Linked DNA regions of Homo sapiens: regions 1, 2 and 3 are each linked to region 4. Evidence: promoter capture Hi-C in human tissues and cell types (Jung and others, 2019). All regions are on one chromosome and are shown on one strand. The core of a region is centred on a gene start or on the middle of the fragment in contact, and the rest is flanking DNA. Distances in the headings are between cores, read along the strand shown.

Region 1 (2,700 bases), core at 129-2,628, 260 kb after region 4:
GAACCAGCTTTTTGTTATCTTAATCCTTTGTATTTTTTTTTAGTCTTTATTTCATTTAGTTCTCTGATCTTTACTGCTTCTGCTCATTTGGGGTTTGGTTTGTTCTTGCTCTTTCACTTTCTTGGGGTGCATCATTAGATTGTTCACTTGAAATCTTTCTACTTTTTTGATGTAGGCATTTGTTGCTATTAATTTCCCTCTTAGTAGTGCTTTTGTTGTATCAAACAGGTTTTGGTGTGTTGTGTTTCTGTTTTCATTTCTTTCAAGAAATTTTGTTTCCATCTAATTTCTTCATTGACCCAATTGGTAGTTCAAAAGCATGTTGTTTGATTTCCATGTATTCATAAAGTTTCTCAAGTTCTTCTTGGTGTTGATTGATAGTTTTATTCCATTGTTGTCTGAGAAGATATTTGATATGACTTCTGTTTTTTTAAAATTTGTTGAGATTTGTTTTGTGGTTTAACATATGGTCTGTCCTACAGAATGTTCCATGTGCTGATGAGAAGAATGTCTATTCTGTAGTTAAAATGCTCTGTAAATGTCTCTTCGGTTTATTTGCTCTAGAGTCCAGTTTAAATTCAATATTTCTTTCTTTCTTTTTTTTTTTTTTTTTTTTTTTGAGACAGAGTTTCACTCTTGTTGCCCAGGCTGGAGTGCAATGGCGTGATTGTGGCTCACTGTAACCTCCACCTCCTGGGTTCAAGTGATTCTCCTGCCTCAGCCTCCTGAGCAGCTGGGGTTATAGGCATGCGCCACCATGCCCAGCTAATTCTGTATTTTTAGTAGAGATGGGGTTTCTCCATGTTGGTCAGGCTGGTCTTGAACTCCCGACCTCAGGTGATCCACCTGCCTCAGCTTCCCAAAGTGCTGGGATTACAGGCGTGAGCCACTGCTCCCAGCCTTCAACATTTCTTTATTGATTTTCTCCTGAGGTTTATTTGCTCTAAGGTCCAGTTTAAATTCAGTATTTCTTTATTGATTTTCTCCTGAGATGATCTGTCTAAGCTGAGTGTGGAGTTTTGAAGTCCCAGCTTTTATTGTATTGAAGTCTCTCTTTAGATCTAGCAATATTTACTTTTTGAGTCTCAGTGCCCCAGTTTTGGGTGCATACATATTTAGAATTTTTATATCCTCTTGCTGGATTGATCCCTTTGTCATTATATAGTTACCTTCTTTGTCTCTTTTTACTGTTTTGACTTAATATCTGTTTTATTTAATACAGGTATAGCTTGTATCAAAGCTCCTGCTTGCTTTTGGTTTCTAGTTGTGTGGAGTGTTTTTTCTGTCCCTTTACTTTGAGTCTATATGTGTCTTTGCAGGTAAAGTGGGTTTCTTGTAGGCAGCATATAGTTGGATCATGTTTCTTTATTCATTCAGCCAGTCTGTGTTTTAAGTGGAAAATTTAACCCATTTACATTCAAGGTTATTATTGCTATGTTATATTTTGTTATTGTCACATTGTTAATTGTTTTCTGATTGCTTTGTATATTTGTTTCTTTTTTTCCTCATTGTTTGTTATTGTGGTTTAGTGATATGTTATAGTGGTACCATTTGAGTCCTTCCTCATTTGTGTGTTTAACTTACCAATGAGTTTTATACTTTAGTGCTCTTTAATGATGGTAAATGTTGTCCTTTCTCTTGCAAGTTTAGGACTCCCTTGAGCATTTTATGTAGAGCTGGTCTAGTGGTGTTAAATTCCCTCAGCATTTGCTTCTCTAGAAAAGACTTTATTTCTCCTTCATTTGTGAAGGATAATTTTGCTCATGTAATATCATTGCATGGCATTTTTTTTTCTTTCAGCACTTTGAATATTTCATCCCATTCTCTCCTGGCCTATACGGTTTCTGCTGAGAACTCTGCTGTTAGTCTGATGAGGGTTCTTTTGTAGGTGCCTCTGCTTTTCTCTTGCTGTTTTTAGTATACTCTCTTTTGCTTTGGCTTTAGATAGTTTTGACTGTGTACAAGACCTTTTTGTACTGTTTGGGGATCTTTGGGTCACCTGGATCTGGATGTTTAGGTCTCTTGCTAGACTTGGATAGTTTTCATCTAATATTTCATTAAATAGGTTTTCTAACCCTTTCATTCTCTGTTTGCCCTCAGGGACACTGATAATTCAAATATTCTGTCACTTTTTGTCATTACAGATGTCATGAAGGCTTTTCTCATTGACTGACCGATTTTGACAGAGTCTCACTCTTGCCCAGGCTGGAGTGTAGTAACATTAACATGGCTCACTTCAGCCTTGATCTCCTGGGCTCAAGAGATTATCCTGCCTCATCCTCCTGTGTAGCTGGAGCTACCACGCCCAGCTAACTTTTTATTGAGATAGGGTCTCACTTTACTGCCCAGGCTGACCTTGACCTCCTGGGCTTAAGCAATCCTCCTGCCTTGGCCTCCCAAAGTGCTGGGATTACAGCCATGAGCCACTGTGCCTGGCCTTCTTTTTAATTCATTTTTTTTTTTTTTTTGTCTGACTTGATTATTTCAAAAGGCCTGTTTTTAAGTTCTGAGATTCTTTCTTCTGTTTGATGTAGTAGTCCATTGTTAAAGCTTTCAAATGTATTTTGTATTGCATTCAGTTAATTCTTCTGTTCCAAAATTTGTTTGGTGCTTTTTTTTTTTTTTTTTTTTTTGAGACAGAGTTTTGCTCTTGTTGCCCAGGCTAGAGTGCAATGGTGCAATCTTGGCTTACACAGCCAC
Region 2 (2,700 bases), core at 158-2,657, 350 kb after region 4:
ATATGAGAATTCAGCTTTTTTCCATTATGCTGGATATTAAAGAGATTTGCAAAAATGTAAAATGATGCCACTCCTCACTAAATGATTATTTTTGAAATTTTTTCACAAAAATATTATTTATGTTATCCTATAATGGGTTATCACTTTTAAATGAATTAGTAAATATTTTTTAAGCTTTTAACTTCTAATAAAGCAAATATGATATATACAACAATTTTTAGAGTATGTAAAACCCCTGAGACCAAAACACTTAAGAATTATTGACTTAGGGGCCGGGCACGGTGGCTCGTGCCTGTTAATTCCAGCACTTTGGGAGGCTGAGGTGGGTGGATCACTTGAGATCAGGAGTTTGAGACCAGCCTGACCAACATAGTGAAACCCTATATCTATTAAAAATACAAAAATTAGTCAGGTGTAGTGGCGGGCGCCTGTAATCCCAGCTGCTCGCGAGGCTGAGGCAGGAGAATTTCTTGAACCCAGGAGGCAGTGCTGAGATAGCACCACTGCACTCTAGCCTGAGTGACAGAGCAAGACTCCATCTCAAAAAAAAAAAAAAAGTATTGACTTAGGGAGATTAACACTTGCCCACACAATCACCAAGTAGTGGATCTTAGAGCTTGACTTCCAAAGTCAGTGTTATCATTATTGGTTTTAGATGTAAAGCTTCAAAAATATCTCTGTACCTTTGAGAAACTGGGGATGGACCACATCAGGATGAGGGAATTCTGGGCAGGTAAGCAGAGATGATGTGTTCCTAGTTTTCTTTGACTATGCTTATAAGACCCTTAGCATTCAATGTTATTCCAATTATGGACACAATGGCCTCTGGACCCCTTACGCTGGTATTTCTTAGAGGTAGAAGATAAATCTTTTTCTTTCTAAAATGTGAATAAAAGGCCAGGTATGGTGGCTCATGCCTGTAATCCCAGCATTTGGGAGGCCAGGAGTTTGAGACCAGCCTAGGCAATGTGGCGATTCCCCATCTTTACAAAAAAATTTTAAAAAACTAGCTGGGTGTGGTGGAACACATCTGTAGTCCTAGCTACTCGGGAGGCTGAGGTAGGAGGATTGCTTGAGCCCAGGAGTTCAAGGCTGCAGTGAGCCATGACTGTACCACTTGCACTCCAGCCTGGGTGACAGAGCAAGACCCTGACTCAAAGGGGAAAAAAAAAAAAAAAACAGGAAGGGGGAATACAAAGATGACCCATTGCTCTCTTGGTTCAGGCATCCTCTTGTATCTCGATTTTTTTTTTTTTTTTTTTTTTACCACAACCCACAGTAAGGAATAATTTTTACATCCAATGCAGTATACACATTCATGTGTATGTAAGCCTAAAACAAAAGTTTCACCAAACAATATCCTTACCACATGTGGCAGTTTTTTTTGTTTGTTGTTTTGTTTTGTTTTGTTTTGAGTCTCGCTCTGTCGCCCAGGCTGGAGTGCAGTGGCGCGATCTCCACTCACTGCAAACTCCACCTCGTGGGTTCACGCCATTCTCCTGCCTCAGCCTCCTGTGCTGAGACCAGCTCAGTAGGGTAGACCCTAATCCAGTGGCACTAGAGGAATTAAAGACACACACACACAGAAATATACAGGTGTTAAGTGGGAAATCAGGGGTCTCACAGCCTTCAGAGCTGACAGCCTCAAACAGAGATTTACCCACGTATTTATTAACAGCAAGCCAGTCATTAGCATTGTTTCTATAGATATTAAATTAACTAAAAGTATCCCTTATGGGAAATGAAGGGATGGGCCAAATTAAAGGGATAGGTTGGGCTAGTTAACTGCAGCAGGAGCATGTCCTTAAGGCACAGATCGCTCATGCTATTGTTTGTGGGTTAAGAATGCCTTTAAGTGGTTTTCCACCCTGGGTGGGCCAGGTGTTCCTTGCCCTCATTCCAGTAAATCCACAACCTTCCAGCGTGGGTGTTGTGACCATCATAACATGTCACAGTGCTGCAGAGATTTTGTTTGTGGCCAGTTTTGGGGCCAGTTTATGGCCAGATTTTGGGGGGCTTGTTCCCAACACTCCTGAGTAGCTAGGACTACAGGCGCCCGCTACCACGCCTAATTTTTTTTTTTTGTATTTTTAGTAGAGACCGGGTTTCACCCTGTTAGCCAGAATGGTCTTGATTTCCTGACCTCGTGATCCACCCGCCTCGGCCTCCCAACATGCTGGGATTACAGGCGTGAGCCACTGCGCCCGGCCCCACATGTGGTATTTTCTAATTTGTTATTTCATTAAAAAGAAAAGCTGGTCATAATTTACTAAACTGATTTTACAACCACTTGTGCCCTACTAGAGTGTTTCTCCACGACAAGAATATACCCAAGGCTGAGAGATGTTAATACAAGCAGTTCCCAACTAAGAATCTTTCCAGACAATGATCATGTCTTTCCTGGTTATGTGAAATCTGAAAACATTTCCCATGAAACAATCTGAAAGGTGGCTGGGAAGGGAAGTAACATTTTCTGAGTGCTATGGTTTGAATATGTCCCCCAAAGTTCGTGTGTTAGAAATAATCCCCAATGCAACAGTGTTAAGAGGTGGAAACTTTAAGAGATGATTAGGTTATGAGGGCTCTGCCATCATGAATGATTAATGCTGTCTGTTATTGCTGGAGTAGGCTAGTTATCTTGGGAGTGGGTTCCTAATAAAAGGCTGAAGTTTGGCCTCCTTCTTCTTCCGTTGCCCTTTC
Region 3 (2,796 bases), core at 110-2,609, 260 kb before region 4:
CTCAAGAGAGGCAGGTTCACATTTAGAGGCAACACATAGTACAATTTAATGCAATGACTTAACGCAGGTGGATTAGATCATATAGTAAGAGTAAATGCTTCTTCCAAGGCAACCTTAGGAGAAAAAAATTTAACATAGTCCCCCTGCCAAGGTAGCGAAGGAAGAAGGGTGAGATCTCTGCAAGAAATGCTGATGAATCCACGTCAGGGCATTTTTAGTCAGAAATGGTATCCTCTGGTATGACATCAGAAGAGTTTAAGACTCCATAATCTGTATGTCAGCAAACCAGTCATTAGTCAGAGGCCATGCAGCAAGAGTTACCTTCAATGAGACAGCAGTGCTGAATAGTGGAAGAAAATTCTTCATTTCAGTGACTGCTGTCAAGCCACTGTTTCTAGGACCTCCCCCGGATGGATGAAGATAAAGACCAATAAAAAGGGCTGGTTGGTTTGCTTTTGCTACATCAAGGCAACTCTTGGCTATATCAACTACTGGCTACTTGATTACAAAATTCTGCCAATAATGGATTTTTAAAATAAACAATCAACTAGAGACAACATGACCCTGCCATGAAGCAAGTCGTAACTTAGGAAGAAATTTGTTAGGTGGGAGGGGATTAAACTAATATCCAAATGAGCCACGAACATGCAAGTCTACCAGACTCAGATCCTTTAGTTCAAGAAGAACTTCATGGATAAGGAAACCAAGGTTCAAAGGAATTATATGATTTAAGTCACTTAGGTAATACAACAGCCAAAGCAGTACTAGAATCCAGATCTCTTGAGGTAAACACAACTCAGGTAGTCAAAAGGTCAGGGTAGGAAAAAGGTTAACTGAAATGAAATTATGAGCAGGAACCAGGACATTTGCCATGACTAATTTGTTGTTGTTGTTGTGGGTAAGAGGAAGAGGAGGCTCCTTTAATAAATAGTGACCTGGCAAATAAAAATAAAGCAAACTCTGCAGCGACTGGGTGAGCAAACCCTACCCACTTAGCAAATGTCTGCTAATTTTAGTTCTTTTAGAATAACTGGTGTTATAAGCTTTGAAGTCAGACATGTCAGAATATAAACCCCAGTTCTACCACTTACCACAGTATGATCTTAAGCAAATTACTTAAAATTCTTTTAGTTGCACTTTTCCTATATATAAAATGTGGTCATCTATACTTGATTTGGCAGGATAATGTAAGATAATGTATCTAAATTATAAACAAGAGTTAAAATAAAAACCTGCAAGGGTTGCTGGGTTTGCCTATGTTGCCACAATAAATTTTAATCAAGAAAGTCGCCAGGTCAGTCTATGAATTAAATGAGTTACAACTATAGGATTATAGCAAGGAAACAGATGTAAAGAGGTTTTGGTAGTAAATACTACATGAGCTCTAAATAACAAAGGACAGATCCTAATTCACAGTTAGCCAAACACAAACCAGGAGACAAAAACTTACCAGAATTACAGGATACCTGTTGTGGGGGTGGGGGTGCCTGATGTGTTAACGTCTGATGCTGATGGTTCGGATGGTGCTGTATGTGTTGATGTGGAGAGGGATGCTGGGGGTGAGGGGACTGGAGCTGGCTGTGTTGCTGTGGGTGTGGTGCTGGGTGTGGGGAACGCTGCGGATGCTGCGGTAAACCATGCGGTCGATGGGGAGGATGTGGAGATGGCTGTGTGTGCATCTGGGGGTGAGACAGTGAGACCTGTGCAACCGAATTACTGCCTGTGGTGTTGAGGCCACTGCCATGACTGTTGGACAGGCTGCTTTGGTTGCTGTGTGGGTGAGTGCTCACTGTACTGCTGGGAGAGTGCTGATAGGTACATGAAGTGTGGGACTGCTGGGAAGATTCAGAAGGGATGTTCATCAAACCTAAAAACAAAGCAAGATCATTTATGGTCAGATTTCAGTTGTATTTTATGACAAACATTTGTAAAATTATTAACATAACAAAAGCATATGATGCCAGGAAGCAACACTGGTTCAATTTAATAAGTGTTAATCCAACATCCACTGCACACTAGGCTCTGTGGTTATTGAGAAGAAATATAATGCCCCACCCTCAAGTGGAAGAGAAAGACAAGATTATGACCAACAATTTAAGTACTAAAGCTAAAGTATACAGAGGATTATGAAAACTGCTCCTTGTCTGTTCAGCTAGGAGAAGGCTGAAAATATAGAGAAGCCTTTCTTTTAAAGACAGTGCCTGAACTGAGTCTTGAAAGATAAGGAAATGTTCGGGGAAAAGTGGGAAAGGTGTGGGGGTCACACTCAGGATGGCTCTCTGTAGGCATAAAGACCAAGGCTTTGATAGAAGACCGCACAATCTAAACTAAATCTCGACTGGCTAATAGTTTAAAACTTTTCCAAATAGGTAAAAGTAATGGAAAGACAAAGGAAAAGAGGAAGTTGTTTATGCCAAATAGGGAAGGGGCATAGGCTGCAAGCTGGAACATGCCTGTGAGCACGTCCAGCACAAATATCTCAGTTAAGGTACAAGGACATAGAATGTACTACGTGCCTGTGAGCATGTTTAACAGCTACACAGGATAGGGCCCAACAAAAAGTTATTAGCATAAAGTAAGGAGGCTTAAAGGAAGTTAGTTTTTAAAAGAAACTATTATTTCTAACACTTATGATTTACTCTTTAACAAGAAGGGAAACTATGAAGAGGAACTTTTTACTTTCTACATAGTGAAGGTGTAAGCTGCAGGATGAGCTCTGTAAATGTTAGCTGCCATGATGATGATTAAGCCAAAAATGTTTAATGTTAAGGATAATTTATGTTTGTTCTCCAAGTA
Region 4 (2,700 bases), core at 7-2,506:
CGATCTCGGCTCACTGCAACCTCCGCCTCCCGGGTTCAAACGATTCTCCTGCTTCAGCCTCCCGAGTAGCTAGGATTACAGGTGCACGCCACCACATCCGGCTAATTTTGACTCAACCTATAGTAAGAAATACATTTTTCCTGTACACACACACATGTCCACATAAAACACTAAGACAAAAGTTTTAAGAAACAATTCAGGTAGGATTAACCTGATACTTTCTACTCATTCTGTGCTCTTTTTTGTTGTTGTTGTTTTCTCTAAATGGTGATTGTGACTTATTCATAAACTGCTAAAGGGCCCTGGCCTGCAGTTTGAAAATCACTGACTGCTCCCTCCACTACTACGTTCTCCACTCGGCCCTTAGCAAACTCTGTTCTTTTGCCATTTGCCCTAGCAGTCCCGGATGCCGGGAATGCCCTACCCTTCTTCACTACTCCTGTACACAGCAGGTTCTGACTGCCCTCTCAAAATGCAGCTCAAATGTTTCTTCCACAGGGAAAGCTTTCCACATACTGCCCCATTCACTATCGTCTCACTCTCGTTGCCCAAGCTGGAGTGCAGTGGCGCGATCTCCGCTCACTGCGAGCTCCGCCTCCCGGGTTCAAGCGATTCTTCTGCTTCAGCCTCCCGAGTAGCTGGGATTACAGGCGCCCAGCACCACTCCCGCCTAATTTTTGTATTTTTTAGTAGAGACAGGGTTTCACCATGTTGGCCAGGCTGGTCTCGAACTCCTGACCTCAGGCGATCCGCCCGCCTCGGCCTCCCGAAGTGCTGGGATTACAGGCGTGAGCCACCGCGCCCGGCCTGTTTCTTTACTGATTTGTCTCCCACATTGGAATGTTAGATCTTTGAAGGAACTGATCTACCGAGCTGCCCCAGTAACTTTAGCACCTAAAATAGTGCATAACACAGAGTACGCCTTCAGAAAACATGAGTGACGAATAAGTGGGAGATGAGACAGACGAGGCCACGGGAGTCTTAGGGGCCTGTCTTAAAGCCGTTTTGAGGTGTCCCTTGCAGAGTCAGGGGCAACGGCTAACGCAAGGTACCCAAGCCAGACCCGGGAAAGGGAGAGAGGGAGGGAGTTATAGCGCCCAGGTGCCACGTTTCAGGGCCTACCAGTAATAAGTGACTGTGCAGGCCGCGCACACCCGCTCGGCTGGGGCTTCGCACACCTCACAGCAGAGTCTGCGCCCCTTGGGGACTGCCAGTGGGTAGATCACATTCATGGTGCAGCCAGCAGTGCTGGTCTCTAAGACGGTTGCCCAGCAAGGATACGCTGAACCCCGGCGTCACGTGACGATCGCGGGGCTGCGTACTTGCCAGCATTTCAAGGGCAGAGGGCGGCGGGACGTGACTCGACTAACATCTGGGTGTATTGCTGAAGTTGGAAAAGGGGAAGAAAGAAAGAAAAAGCAGCACAAAACCCACAAGTCCCACGGGTCAAATGGCCGAGAAACGACTCCCAAGGAGTCCAAGTCCAGAAAGGCCCGTACAGTGGCCGGTAAGGGTCAAACATGGCCAGTTCTTCACCCAGGCTAGGAAACGAACGTGAGGGAACGTGACCCTACCAGATGCCCACCCAGCCGGGGATCCCCCTCGTTGCAGTGTCACTTTCGCTGGGCTCTGGGGCAGAACAACTACGCATTTCCAGACTTGGCGAGATCGGGACCTAGTGTCAAAAGAAGGGTAGTGAACCGCCCACTCAGTACGGCGCGGCGCGTACACCAGGTAGGCGAGAAGGGGCGTGGCGCGGCGGCCGCGAAACGTGCGCAGGCGCCGGCCGCTGCGCTGCAGATGGCGGAAATGGATCCGGTAGCCGAGTTCCCCCAGCCTCCCGGTGCTGCGCGCTGGGCTGAGGTTATGGCTCGCTTCGCGGCCAGGCTGGGCGCGCAGGGCCGGCGGGTGGTGTTGGTTACGTCAGGCGGCACCAAGGTCCCACTGGAAGCGCGGCCGGTGCGCTTCCTGGACAACTTCAGCAGCGGGCGGCGCGGTGCAACCTCGGCCGAGGCCTTCCTAGCCGCCGGCTACGGGGTCCTGTTCTTGTATCGCGCTCGCTCTGCCTTCCCCTATGCCCACCGCTTCCCACCCCAGACTTGGCTGTCCGCTCTGCGGCCTTCGGGCCCAGCCCTTTCGGGCTTGCTGAGCCTGGAGGCCGAGGAGAATGCACTTCCGGGTTTTGCTGAGGCTCTGAGGAGCTACCAGGAGGCTGCGGCTGCAGGCACCTTCCTGGCAGTAGAGTTCACCACTTTGGCGGACTATTTGCATCTGTTGCAGGCTGCGGCCCAGGCACTCAATCCGCTAGGTGCGTGCCCTAGGAGTACCCCTTTTGCCTGGAAGCACAGCCTTTCTTTCCAGCCACTTATCCCCTTACCTCCTGCTTACCCACGGATCTCAGCTGGGGAACCCGAGTTGAGAAGGAGCTGATCCTATATCGTACCTCGCCGATTTGTTAACACCTTGTGTTTCTCTTTGCAGGCCCTTCTGCGATGTTTTACCTGGCTGCGGCTGTGTCAGATTTCTATGTTCCTGTCTCTGAAATGCCTGAACACAAGATCCAGTCATCTGGGGGCCCACTGCAGGTGATGGGCGCTTCTCTTCCAGAGATCTAATCCCATATAACCAATCTTGGGTTAATTTCCTCTTGATCTGGAGATGGCCTTTCTGCATCTGTATTCGCTAGGCACAGGGGATACA

The links. Contacts are between HindIII fragments. The study calls those that stand out against the background at their distance.
Region 1: a fragment that was not itself captured here is called in contact with the fragment with the promoter of ZMYND12 in region 4 in 2 of the 25 tissues and cell types used here (neural progenitor cells and psoas muscle).
Region 2: a fragment that was not itself captured here is called in contact with the fragment with the promoter of ZMYND12 in region 4 in 1 of the 25 tissues and cell types used here (pancreas).
Region 3: a fragment that was not itself captured here is called in contact with the fragment with the promoter of ZMYND12 in region 4 in 2 of the 25 tissues and cell types used here (hippocampus and thymus).

What each region holds. Positions count from the first base shown.
Region 1 is chr1:42,712,089-42,714,788 of GRCh38, forward strand. No RefSeq gene overlaps it. Among named protein-coding and RNA genes, the nearest start is that of CLDN19, 27 kb to the right of the region's middle. The HindIII fragment of the contact is 4,114 bases long and covers 1-2,700 here.
Region 2 is chr1:42,802,677-42,805,376 of GRCh38, forward strand. No RefSeq gene overlaps it. Among named protein-coding and RNA genes, the nearest start is that of ERMAP, 13 kb to the right of the region's middle. The HindIII fragment of the contact is 4,811 bases long and covers 1-2,700 here.
Region 3 is chr1:42,189,853-42,192,648 of GRCh38, forward strand. It overlaps FOXJ3 (forkhead box J3), which reads right to left. Exons shown (of 13, transcript NM_014947.5): 9 at 1,451-1,867. Among named protein-coding and RNA genes, the nearest start is that of GUCA2A, 27 kb to the left of the region's middle. The HindIII fragment of the contact is 3,563 bases long and covers 1-2,796 here.
Region 4 is chr1:42,454,766-42,457,465 of GRCh38, forward strand. ZMYND12 (zinc finger MYND-type containing 12) reads right to left here and starts at 1,257. Exons shown (of 8, transcript NM_032257.5): 1 at 1,123-1,257. The coding sequence starts at 1,232. PPCS (phosphopantothenoylcysteine synthetase) reads left to right here and starts at 1,778. Exons shown (of 3, transcript NM_024664.4): 1 at 1,778-2,308; 2 at 2,482-2,585. The coding sequence starts at 1,801. It also overlaps a transcript of CCDC30 not described here. RefSeq lists enhancers at 1,379-1,608, 1,849-1,918, 2,009-2,128. The HindIII fragment of the contact is 5,227 bases long and covers 1-2,700 here.